Regions from separate parts of the Homo sapiens genome. Here region 1 is linked to region 2. Evidence: promoter capture Hi-C in 16 types of primary human blood cells and fetal thymus (Javierre and others, 2016). All regions are on one chromosome and are shown on one strand. The core of a region is centred on a gene start or on the middle of the fragment in contact, and the rest is flanking DNA. Distances in the headings are between cores, read along the strand shown. Region 1 has its middle 6.6 kb from the start of LCE3E. Region 2 holds the start of KPLCE (KPRP N-terminal and LCE C-terminal like protein).

The links. Contacts are between HindIII fragments. The CHiCAGO score rates a contact against its expected background, and 5 or more counts as called.
Region 1: a contact is called between a fragment that was not itself captured here and the fragment with the promoter of KPLCE in region 2, in 1 of 17 cell types (total CD4 T cells). The highest score is 5.0, in total CD4 T cells.

What each region holds. Positions count from the first base shown.
Region 1 is chr1:152,570,790-152,576,066 of GRCh38, forward strand. No RefSeq gene overlaps it. Among named protein-coding and RNA genes, the nearest start is that of LCE3E, 6.6 kb to the left of the region's middle. The HindIII fragment of the contact is 2,450 bases long and covers 199-2,648 here.
Region 2 is chr1:152,716,331-152,721,649 of GRCh38, forward strand. It overlaps KPLCE (KPRP N-terminal and LCE C-terminal like protein), which reads left to right and starts at 3,192. Exons shown (of 1, transcript NM_001024679.3): 1 at 3,192-4,140. The coding sequence starts at 3,192. The coding sequence ends at 3,944. The HindIII fragment of the contact is 5,275 bases long and covers 739-5,319 here.

The DNA of each region.
Region 1 (5,277 bases), core at 174-2,673, 150 kb before region 2:
AAGAGCAGATTTTTGGAGATCCTTGCTCAATCATTCCCAACCTTGTCTTCTTAAGTGAAAACATGAGTCCCTAGTTTTTCATCTGGGTCACAAACTTCACATCCAATAAGCATTATTATTTTGAGATATACAGCTCTTCTCATCACCACAGAGATGCTTCCATATAATATCCAGGTCATATATGAGAAAGTAAGATTAAGCTTTTCCTGTTTTATTGAGATTTGACAAAAATAACTGCCAACTTGTAAACAATAGGCACAAATAACTCTCCACCTTATAAAGAGGTTGGAAGGAGCCCTGAGATGCTATCACTCTTCTCTTGTTATAGTAATGAGAAGTTTTCAAAACTGGATAGAATGCTGTGGATTTTCCCCTTACATTTCACATGGGGAAGCAACAGGTTATTACTCTTACCCTCCACTAGAGGAAAAGTCATAGAAATTTCAAGGGGACAAATTGTAGAACTTATCAATGCCTAAAAAACAGAAAGACTTGGCCAGTAGCGGTGGCTCATGCTTGTAATCTCAACACTTTGGGAGGTGAAGGTGGGTGGATCACTTGAGGTCAGGAGTTCAAGACCAGCCTTGCCAACGTGGTGAAACCCCATCTATACTAAAAATACAAAAATAGCTGGGTGTGTTGGCTGGTGCCTGTAATCCCAACTACCCAGGAGGCTGAGGCAGGAGAATCGCTTGAACCAGGGAGACGGAGTTTGCAGTGAGCTGAGATTGTGCCACTGCACTCCAGCCTGGGCGGCAGAGCAAGATTCCATCTCAAAACAAAACAAAACAAAACAATAAAACACACACACACACACACACACACACGCAAAACCCAGGAAGACTAAAATTTCAGGTCTCAGTGTCATCATTGGACTTGCTGAACAGTTCTCTGGCTATTCTGGAGAGTGAAAAATAATTGGAAAGGGAAAATGGAAAGGAGAATGGGGAAAAGAGAAGCAGCCAGTCCCTTACTGCTTGACATGGCCAGAGTTCATGAGTTTCCCTGAGCCAGTGGACAGTTTGGAGGGCAGCTAGGCATAGCTGTACTGCCACAGTCCTGCTGGGAATGTGGCTATCAAGGCAAGAGGCCTGTACCAATGGGGCTAAGAGTGCAGGGGAGTGTCAAAAGAGGCCAAATTTTTCACATCAGGTCACTGTGCTAAAGGTTCCTTAAAGAAATCAGTCATTTATCTGGTAAGAGAGCCCTCATGGGTCAGCACAGAGAGGATGCAGCCACTGAGAGACACTAGCAGTACCAGCCAAATATGAGATATTTGCTTTGTCCCCCCTTTTCTCATTCCGGCCTCAAAACAGTGCAGAATAAAGGGAACCCGCAGGGGAGAGGAGGAGGTGGACAATAAATGATGGAACTAACCATGTCTCTTTTCCACACACTAGATGCCTGTTTTCCACACAGTCCTTTAGGAGACAGTTGGGCTGTGCTGGGTTGGAGAGGGAGGAGTTAATATTCTTATTCTGAGTTATATCCAACTGGACAGGATAGGATGCTTCCTGAATACCTGAAAAATGATTAGAAAGGCCTGAAACACACTTGAGATATTATCAAAGTAGAGTCAGTATAACATAGTAGAAGACAGAGACTAGAGGAAAAATAAGTCACTATTTGTATCTGACACTGAGTTCAGACTACTTAATAAACTTCAGAGGCCCTTGGAAGATTTTCCTGCCAAGGATCTCTCTTGGTTCTTCCTCTCTTTCCAATATCAGTCAATAAATAAATCAATACTCAATTTCATAAATTGCATAATATTTTTTAAACTGCATTTAGGAAAACATTCCTTCTTGGAGCTAATTATCACTGTAAAATCAGGGCTTTGTGGTGAAAAATGTGAAAGACTTCAGATGTCAACAATGAAAAGTTTTGTCTCCAAACTCCATGTCACCCTCAAAACCTTCAGTTTCTGTGAGCTATCTTGGGTGGTCTGTGACATGATCTTTCTTTACTCTTGAGCTGGGCTCCAATTTTCAGTACAGGTCATGGTGGGCCTGGAGTGCTGAGGAATGGGTCAGACCTCCAATCATCCAGGGGGCTTTGAGTTGCTAAGAGTGGTGTAGGGAAGGCAGATAAAGTTGAAGAAAGTTTTGTTATTTCAGAAAGTCACATATAGAAAGAGGAGATGGGGGTCGGGGAGGTAGGGAGAAGATGGATGCCAGGAGATCAGGGAGGGTGGAATTTCTGGAGAGAAGAGAATCCTCTACCTCAGAAGTTCTCAGCTTTGGCTGCACATTGGCATCATCTTGGAGGGTTTTTTAAAAATACAAAACTCTGAGTTTCATCCCTCAAGACGCTGGTTGGCTTGGGCTAGGCATCAGGGTTTTAGTATCTCCCAGGTGATTCTGATGCACAGTCAGGTTTGAGAGGATCAGATCACATGAGGTGGAAGAGAAAGAATTGGAGGTTGGAGAATGAGATCACCTGTGGGCTTACGTGCATACGTACCTATTGTCCACAAAACAAACAAAAAATTCTTTGGCTACAGTACTAGTCTCTGGCTGGTCAGGAACTGGCTGATTTCTCTAGTCTCAACTTCTACTATCCTCTTCTACTTCTTTACCTGTCTTTGTCACACCAAGGGGTCTGAGGCTTCTCCCTGGGCCTGAGCTGGGGGGCACCTTAGTGACTGAAGCTTGGTGCTCAGGGAGTGTCTGTCTGAACACCTTGAGGAAAGAGGCAGATGTCTCAGGAAGTTCTAGTTCATAGACTCTCTGGACAGGATCTTGTTACCAGGTTCTATGTTGCTTGCTTATAGGCTGCAGGGTCCTGGTAGTAGGCGGGGGGGCGGGAGGTGTGGGGGAGGAAAGAGTAAGTTTTTCTAAGAGAAGGATCTGGGATGCCCCAAGACTGTCCGGGTACCTATTTCTTAAGTTTGTTTTTGGTGTGTTTTCTTCTCTTTCTCCCATCCTCTTTTGCTCTCCCCCTCTCTTTACATTCCTTCTTTACTTTCTTCTATTCTCTAAAAAATGAACAGATATTACACAGTGGGCATGGTGATAGATGTGCAATCCATTGGATGGTGGACACACCTAATTATAAATAAATGAGATGTGGTTCTGGTTGAGTAGCTCACCTTGTAGCAGGGCAGACAGACAGGTGATCAAATGACTATGACCCAAGATGATGAAAGCTACATAAAACATGTGTTGAGTCCTGAGGCTTATGCAAGAGCTTTTGGCTATCAGTCTCCTGTCTCCTCAGTGTGCCCAGAGGTTGTCATTTGGTATCACTTGAGAGTAGTTGAGGTGAGGTCAGCAGCCTATAGGAGCTGATGATGGGCATGGAGCAGGAACAAAGGGATAAGGAGTCTGACCTCCCCTTGCAGTTTATGGTCAGAGAGACACAGAGAAACTCATGAAACCTAGGAGGCAGAGGTGTCCCTGCAGAGAGAAGGGGGATGGACAAAATTCCTGTCTGAGGACAGAATGTGGTGGATAGAAGCGGCCAGAATAATAGGTTCATTAAGAACATAGGTTGGGGAGTCAGATATTTCAGGCTTTGTTTTCTTATTTCTTCAGGTGATAGTTGTCATAAGGTAAAGGTGTTTGAAGAGAGAAAAAACTACAATGGAATGAAAGCACAGTGGACCACGGATGTTAGAGCTGCAACCAGAGATGGAGATAAGAAACTAACCTACATCTGATGAACGATGTGTCAGTAAGCCACTCACTTTGTAAGTTTCTGAGTTGCAGACATGGGTCAGAGAAGAAGGTGATTCACCCAGGCTGGGATATTCAGGGAGAATTTATCTGAAAGGTAATTATAATTAATTGAAGGTGAATAATTATAGATACATTTTGTAGTGTTATTATGTATACCTGATGTAATGCAATTGATGTGTGACTAATGCCTGTAAAAACTGCATTTGAATCAGCTCTGTAGAATTTTCCTATTGCATTTTATTATAACAATAAAGACGCATTTTCTTCTGAAATATAAGCATACTCAAGAATAAGACAAATCTTTTATATCACACAGGTAATTAACAATATGTATTTTTTTCAGACAAATACACCAGTGGTTCAGAATAGAAAGCCAAAAAATAAGGCCACACACCTACAACCATCTGGTATTCAACAAAGCTGACAAAAACAAGCAATGGAGAAAAGACTCCTAGTCAATACATGGTGCTAGGATAACTGGTCAGCCATATGCAGAAGATTGAAACTAGACTCCTTCCTTACACCATATACAAAAATCAACTTAAGATGGATCAAAGACTTAAATGTAAAACCCAAAATTATAAAAACCCTGGAAGACGACTGAGGCAATACCATTCCAGACATAGAAATGGACAAAGATTTTATGACAAAGACACCAAAATCAATTGCAAAAATGACAAATGGGATCTAATTAAACTAAAGAGCTTCTGCACAGCAAAATAAACTATCAATACAGTAAACAGACAACCTACAGGATGGGAGAAAATCTTTGCAAACTATGCATCTGACAAAAATCTAATAATATCCAGCATCTATAAGGAACTTAAGCAAATCTACAAGAAAAAAAACAAACAAACAACCCAATTAAAAAGCAAGCAAAGGACATGAACAGACACTTTTCAAAAGAAGAGGTGCATGCAGTCAATAAGCATATTTTTAAAAAGCCCAACATCCCACTGATCATTAGAGAAATTCATATCAAAACCGCAGTAAGGTATCATCTCAAACCAGTCAGAATGGCTGTCATTAAAAAGTCAAAAAATAGCAGGTGTTGTAAGGTTGCAGAGGAAAAGGAATGCTTATACATTGTTGACGTGAGTGTAAATTAGTTCAACTGCTGTTGGAGACAGTGTGGCTATTCCTAAAAGACCTAAGGACCAAAATACCATTCAACACAGCAATCCGTTACTGGGTATATACCCAAAATAATATAAATCGTTCTCTCGTAAAGACACATGCACACATATGTTTATTGCAGCACTACTCACAATAGCAAAAACATGGAATCAACCTAAATGCTCATCAAAGAGAGACTGGATAAAGAAAATGTGATACAGGTATACCATAGAATACTATGCAGCCATAAAAAAGAGTGAGATCATGTCCTTTGCAGGAACATAAATGGAGCTGGAGGCCATTATCTTTAGCAAAGTAAGACAAGAAAAGAAAACCAAACACTGCATGTTGTCATTTGTAAGTGGCAGGTAAATAATGAGAACACATGGACACATAGAGAGGACAACAGACACAGGGACGTACCAGAGGGTGGGGAATAGAAGGAGTGAGAGGACCAGGGAAAATGACTAATGGGTACTAG
Region 2 (5,319 bases), core at 1,942-4,441:
ACAGAATGGAATACTATCCAGCCATAAAAAGGAATGAAATCCTGTCATTTCCAGCAACATGGATGGAACTGGAGGTCATTATGTTAAGTGAAATTAGGAAGATAAAAGATAACATGTTGCCAAGGATGTGGAGAAAATAAAATCTAACACACCATTGGTGGGAATGCAATTTAGTACAACCATGTGGAAAACAGTATGGAGGGTCTTCAAAAATTAAAAATAGAACTGGCATATAATCCATCAATCACACTAGTAGGTATATATCCAAAGATATTGAAGTCAGTAATATTGAAGAGATATCTGCATTCCCACATTTATTGCAGCACTATTCACAATAGGCAATAAAAGGAATCAACCTAAGTGTAAATCAAAGGATAAATGGATGTTTAAAAATGCTATATATACACAAAGAATACTATTCAGTCACAAAAAGAAGGAAATCCTGTCATTTGTGAGAAGGTGAATGAACCGGGAAGATATTATGCTAAGCAAAATAAGCCAGGCATAGATAGACATACTGCATGATCTAATTTATATGTGGAATCTAGAAATGTTGATCTCATGGAAATAGAGAGCAGAGTGCTGGTTACGAGAGATTGGGGTGGCTGGTAGGTGGGGTTGGGGAGATATTTAAAGTATTCAGGGGAAGACTTCGCAGGACCTGGCTTGACATGGGAGAGGGGCTGTGAATTAGTGGGTCTTTGCATCCTCTTTGTTTAGGAAATGTAGAAGCCTTAAAGCTTATGGGTCCTGGGAAATGTGGGGATCTATTATGTACAAATACAGTAGAACAATTTACCTGAGAGGCCGTAGGGGCCACGGTGGAGCCTGCACTGGTTTATCTAAGGAATTGACATTTGGACCAGTGCTAGGCTTAGGCTCAAGACAACTTTCTTCAGTGGGCGACCCAATATAGCTCAGTGGGGGTAGCATGGGCTCTGGAGCTGGATAGGCTTGGGTTGCAATGTCACTCCATTACCTACTGATGGGATGACCTTGGAAAAGTGGACCTCTGGGTCTCAGTTTTCTCTTGTGTAAAATTGGGGCTAATGAAGCCTGTCTCATAGAGTTATTTCAAAATCAAATGAAATAACACAGGCAAAGAGCCTAGGACAGTATCCACCACATAGTAAGTGCTCAGTAGATAATATTCCCACCTCTCTTTCTACATCTTCTGCATTGTGGAAAAGAAAACAGGCAGGGATTCAAGGACAATGCCATGTTCAGAAATAAAAGGCAACATATTGTAGTAATAAAGATCATGATCTATGAAAGCAGACTCCTGCATCTGAGGCCTAGCTTCCTTACTTACCTGCTTTGTGATGAGGGTAACTCCCTTAAACTTTCAGGGCCTCAGTTGTGTCCATTTGTAAATGTACTGCCTCATGAATTGTTATATATAAAGTATTCAAATAAACTTTAGATTCTATTATTATTGTTGTTGTTGTTATCACACAGTGCTCATCTGGCTGGAATTTTCCCTGCTCAGCGTTCTTTGGAATTGAAGCCTGGTAGTGAGGTCCTGAAAGGTAAGAATGGGGGAGCCTAAGGGGCATGAGAAGGCTGAGGGGAGGCAGTCTAGACTCCAGCCTGGGGCCTAGGATCATTAAGCACCCACCCAGTTTCCAAATGAACCTAGAATAACCTGATGTTCCATGAAACAAACCATTTTTTGGAGGTCTTGTGTCATATTGGGCCAGAGACCACTGGGCCAAACTGTGCTCAGCAACCTAGACCAGCAGAAGTTACCTTGGAAGCCCACAGAACACTCATTTAGGCTGAGTGAAGTGAGGTGAATCTATAGTTAAATTCTCAATTTTTCATACACTGTGCCAAAAGCTACACTTAGCTTTAGATTAGATTCTCAATTTTAGTTTGATTCTCTGAGCTACACTTAGCTTTTGGCACAGTGTATGAAAAATTGAGAATCTAACTATAACTTGGATAAGTCCTGAAGACTCAAGTGACCTGGAAACAGCTTCATTAGAGACAGATCACATAGGCATCACTCATAACTTATAGGAAAAGGAGACTGACTTGTTTCCTGAGGAAGGGAACAGGAATCATTTATCTAGTGTTTGGGAAAACCCAATGTCAAGCACAGACATGCCCTGCCTCTGACTGAGGAGCCAGGCATACTGGGGAGGAATCTTGCCAATGCAACACCATCCCTTCTCCTTGTGATCTCTGGTGCTTCATTTAGATGCCATTAAATTGCCTCATTGCTGCCCTATAAAAGGTCTCCCCACCTGCTAGTTTTTCAGATCACTGACTTCTTCCAGTCTTGCTCCTATCAGCAAAGAGGGTAAGTCTCTATACGGGATAAGGACATGGTGAGAAACAGAGCTTTGGGGAAGCTGGGGTGGGATGAGAGCTGTGGGATGAAGGGTGAGCGAGGACTAGATGCTTAGGAAATCTGCTGAAGGAGGCTGAAAGCAATGCTGGTGGGAAACTTGGAGCCTGGGGCATGAGAGGAGAGGGAGGGGGACACGATGAGCTGGCATTCCTGTTTAAGAAGGGACTTTAGAGAACTGGCTCCCCATCCCCTTATCTGAATGCAATTGTGCAGTCCTCTCTTGGGTCTATGTGCTAATGAGGCCAACTGATTAGTCCAGCTGGTTCAAGGAGCACCTGGTAGAAACCTGCTCAAATTTAGCCTTGTTCTTTGCTCAGTACCGGGCACAGCTTGAGGCTCATGTTGGCTCAGGGTCCATGGACATAAATTTGTCTTTGCTGGGTATTCCTTGTCTGGGCAGAAGGAAGAAGGGAAGTCACCCTGGAGAGAACTGGTGGCAGGGGTCAATCATCTGGGAGCAGCAATTTCCAAAGGGTAATTCACAATGCAGACACTGAAGAAAGAGGAGAGGAGGCTTGGAGAGTTGGGTAGAAACACAGGCAGCACCATTTCAAGCCTCCATTTCCCAATATAGAGACTGAGGCCCAGAGGTAAGCGATGACTTGTACCAAGCCACATAGCCAGGTACAGGCACAGAAGCTGAGCTGAGAGTCCCTGGCTCTGAATCCACCTCCTGCCAAGTATACAGCCTCTGGATGTCTGCAACCTTCTCAAGAAAGCCTTGCTTGCAAATCACTGTATTCAAAGGGGATGTTGAAGGTTTCCCCTAGAAACCTTCCTGGTTTTACAGTTCTAATGAAACCTTTCTTTTCAGATTTTGCAAAGCCACAGAACAATGTGTGACCAGCAGAAGCAGCCACAGTTCCCTCCATCTTGTGTGAAAGGTTCGGGACTAGGGGCTGGGCAGGGTAGCAATGGTGCCTCTGTGAAATGCCCAGTTCCATGCCAGACCCAAACTGTCTGTGTGACAGGCCCTGCTCCATGCCCTACTCAAACTTATGTGAAGTACCAAGTTCCATGCCAGACTCAAACCTACGTGAAGTGCCCAGCTCCCTGCCAGAGGACCTATGTGAAATACCCAACACCCTGCCAAACCTATGTGAAGTGCCCAGCTCCCTGCCAGACAACCTATGTAAAATGCCCAACTCCCTGCCAAACCTACGTGAAGTGCCCAGCTCCCTGCCAGATGACCTACATCAAAAGTCCAGCTCCCTGCCAGACCCAGACGTGCTATGTCCAGGGTGCTTCTCCTTGCCAGAGCTATTATGTTCAAGCTCCTGCAAGTGGCTCAACCTCCCAGTACTGTGTCACTGACCCATGCTCTGCTCCCTGTTCCACCAGCTACTGCTGTCTGGCTCCCCGGACCTTCGGGGTGAGTCCCCTGAGACGCTGGATTCAGCGGCCCCAGAACTGCAACACAGGATCATCTGGCTGCTGTGAGAATTCGGGAAGCTCTGGATGCTGTGGTTCTGGGGGCTGTGGCTGCAGCTGTGGATGTGGCAGCTCTGGGTGCTGCTGTTTGGGAATTATCCCCATGAGGTCCCGAGGTCCTGCATGCTGTGACCATGAGGATGACTGCTGCTGCTAAACATACGACAGCTCAACTCCAGAATGCACTGCCCCGCTACCCCTTCTGGAACATGCACCAGCTTCTGGCCCCCTCTCTGTTAGTGCCAGTGATGTAGAACCTCATCACTTTGCCTCTGTGCTTTGCTTCTCTACCAAGGCAGCCTGCCAGAGTTAGTACAGTCCCCAAACTTTGGCATGAATAAAGCTCTGAATGCATTTCGTGGTAATTTCTGTCTGTTTGTTTGGTCCATATTTATGCTTTTCTATCAGGCACTCTTCTGCATCCCTCTCTTCTTACTCTTGTTTCTCAGCTAGAGGAAAGATCTGCACGAACATGAACAAGCAGACTGAGCTGGTGAAATCCCAGCCTGGGAGCCCCATGCCTTCTAGAATGCTGTGAATAAACTTTCCCACGCAAGTTAGAAGCATCTGAAAATGGAGATTTGAGGGTTGGGGCTGTTTCTGTGCTGCCCTTTGATGAGCCTCAGAGCAGGGTTGACCATGATGAGACCCTCATCTTCCTGGGTGTTGGAGAGATTGTGAAATTGTATCTGCTCATGGACCAGTATCACTGGTCATGGTCAGTATCACTGGACCATGTCTCCACCACTGTGCAGAGGGCTTGAACCCATGCAGGACTTTATGAATTACATTTTCTCATCTGACAGGCTTGCCCTGTTGAAACTATAGGTTGAAGGCCTGAGGGAAAAGGCTAGGAGCCCCCTGAAGTGGGTAGGTATTCACCAGGTCAGTCCTGGTAGTAAGTGAGCCATCTCCAAAGGAAGGTGAATCTTGTGCGAGGGGCTTCTGGGCCCCCTTCTGGGCCCCTCACCCTAGTTAGCTTTTTCTTCTCCATTGCTTAGCTAGCTCTAGAGAATTTGGGGTGGACTTTTGTAACTAAAGATTCCAAATACACACATTAAAAAAATAGAGGAGTAACAAGTGTTCAAAACAATCCCACAAGGTCTGGTGCATAGGAGACAATGTTTGGTGATGTATAAATGAACGCATAAAGGAATGAATGAAAAAGGGAATCATGTGTTTGTTTCTAACCCTGGACACTAGCAGAAGATCATCTTGACTACTCTGCTGCCTTTGAATGTCTAAACACCTGTATCTCCACAAACAGCACAATATCCCTTCATCCAAACTCCCTAAACTTACAGCCCAGTCACTGGAAACCCACTCAGGGAAGGAACTGCCTTGGCCAGGGCCACACTTTCCTCTTGTACCACCAACTGGGTCCTGCAATGTTGGAGGATGGGGTGCTAAAGTTCCCTGTGGTCTAGTCTCTTTAGAGAATGGTATCTGCAAAGCCCAACTCAGCACTGAAAATATTGTAGGGAATCCTCTTTAAAACCCAATGCAAACTTCTAAAAATCCTATTTCTATCC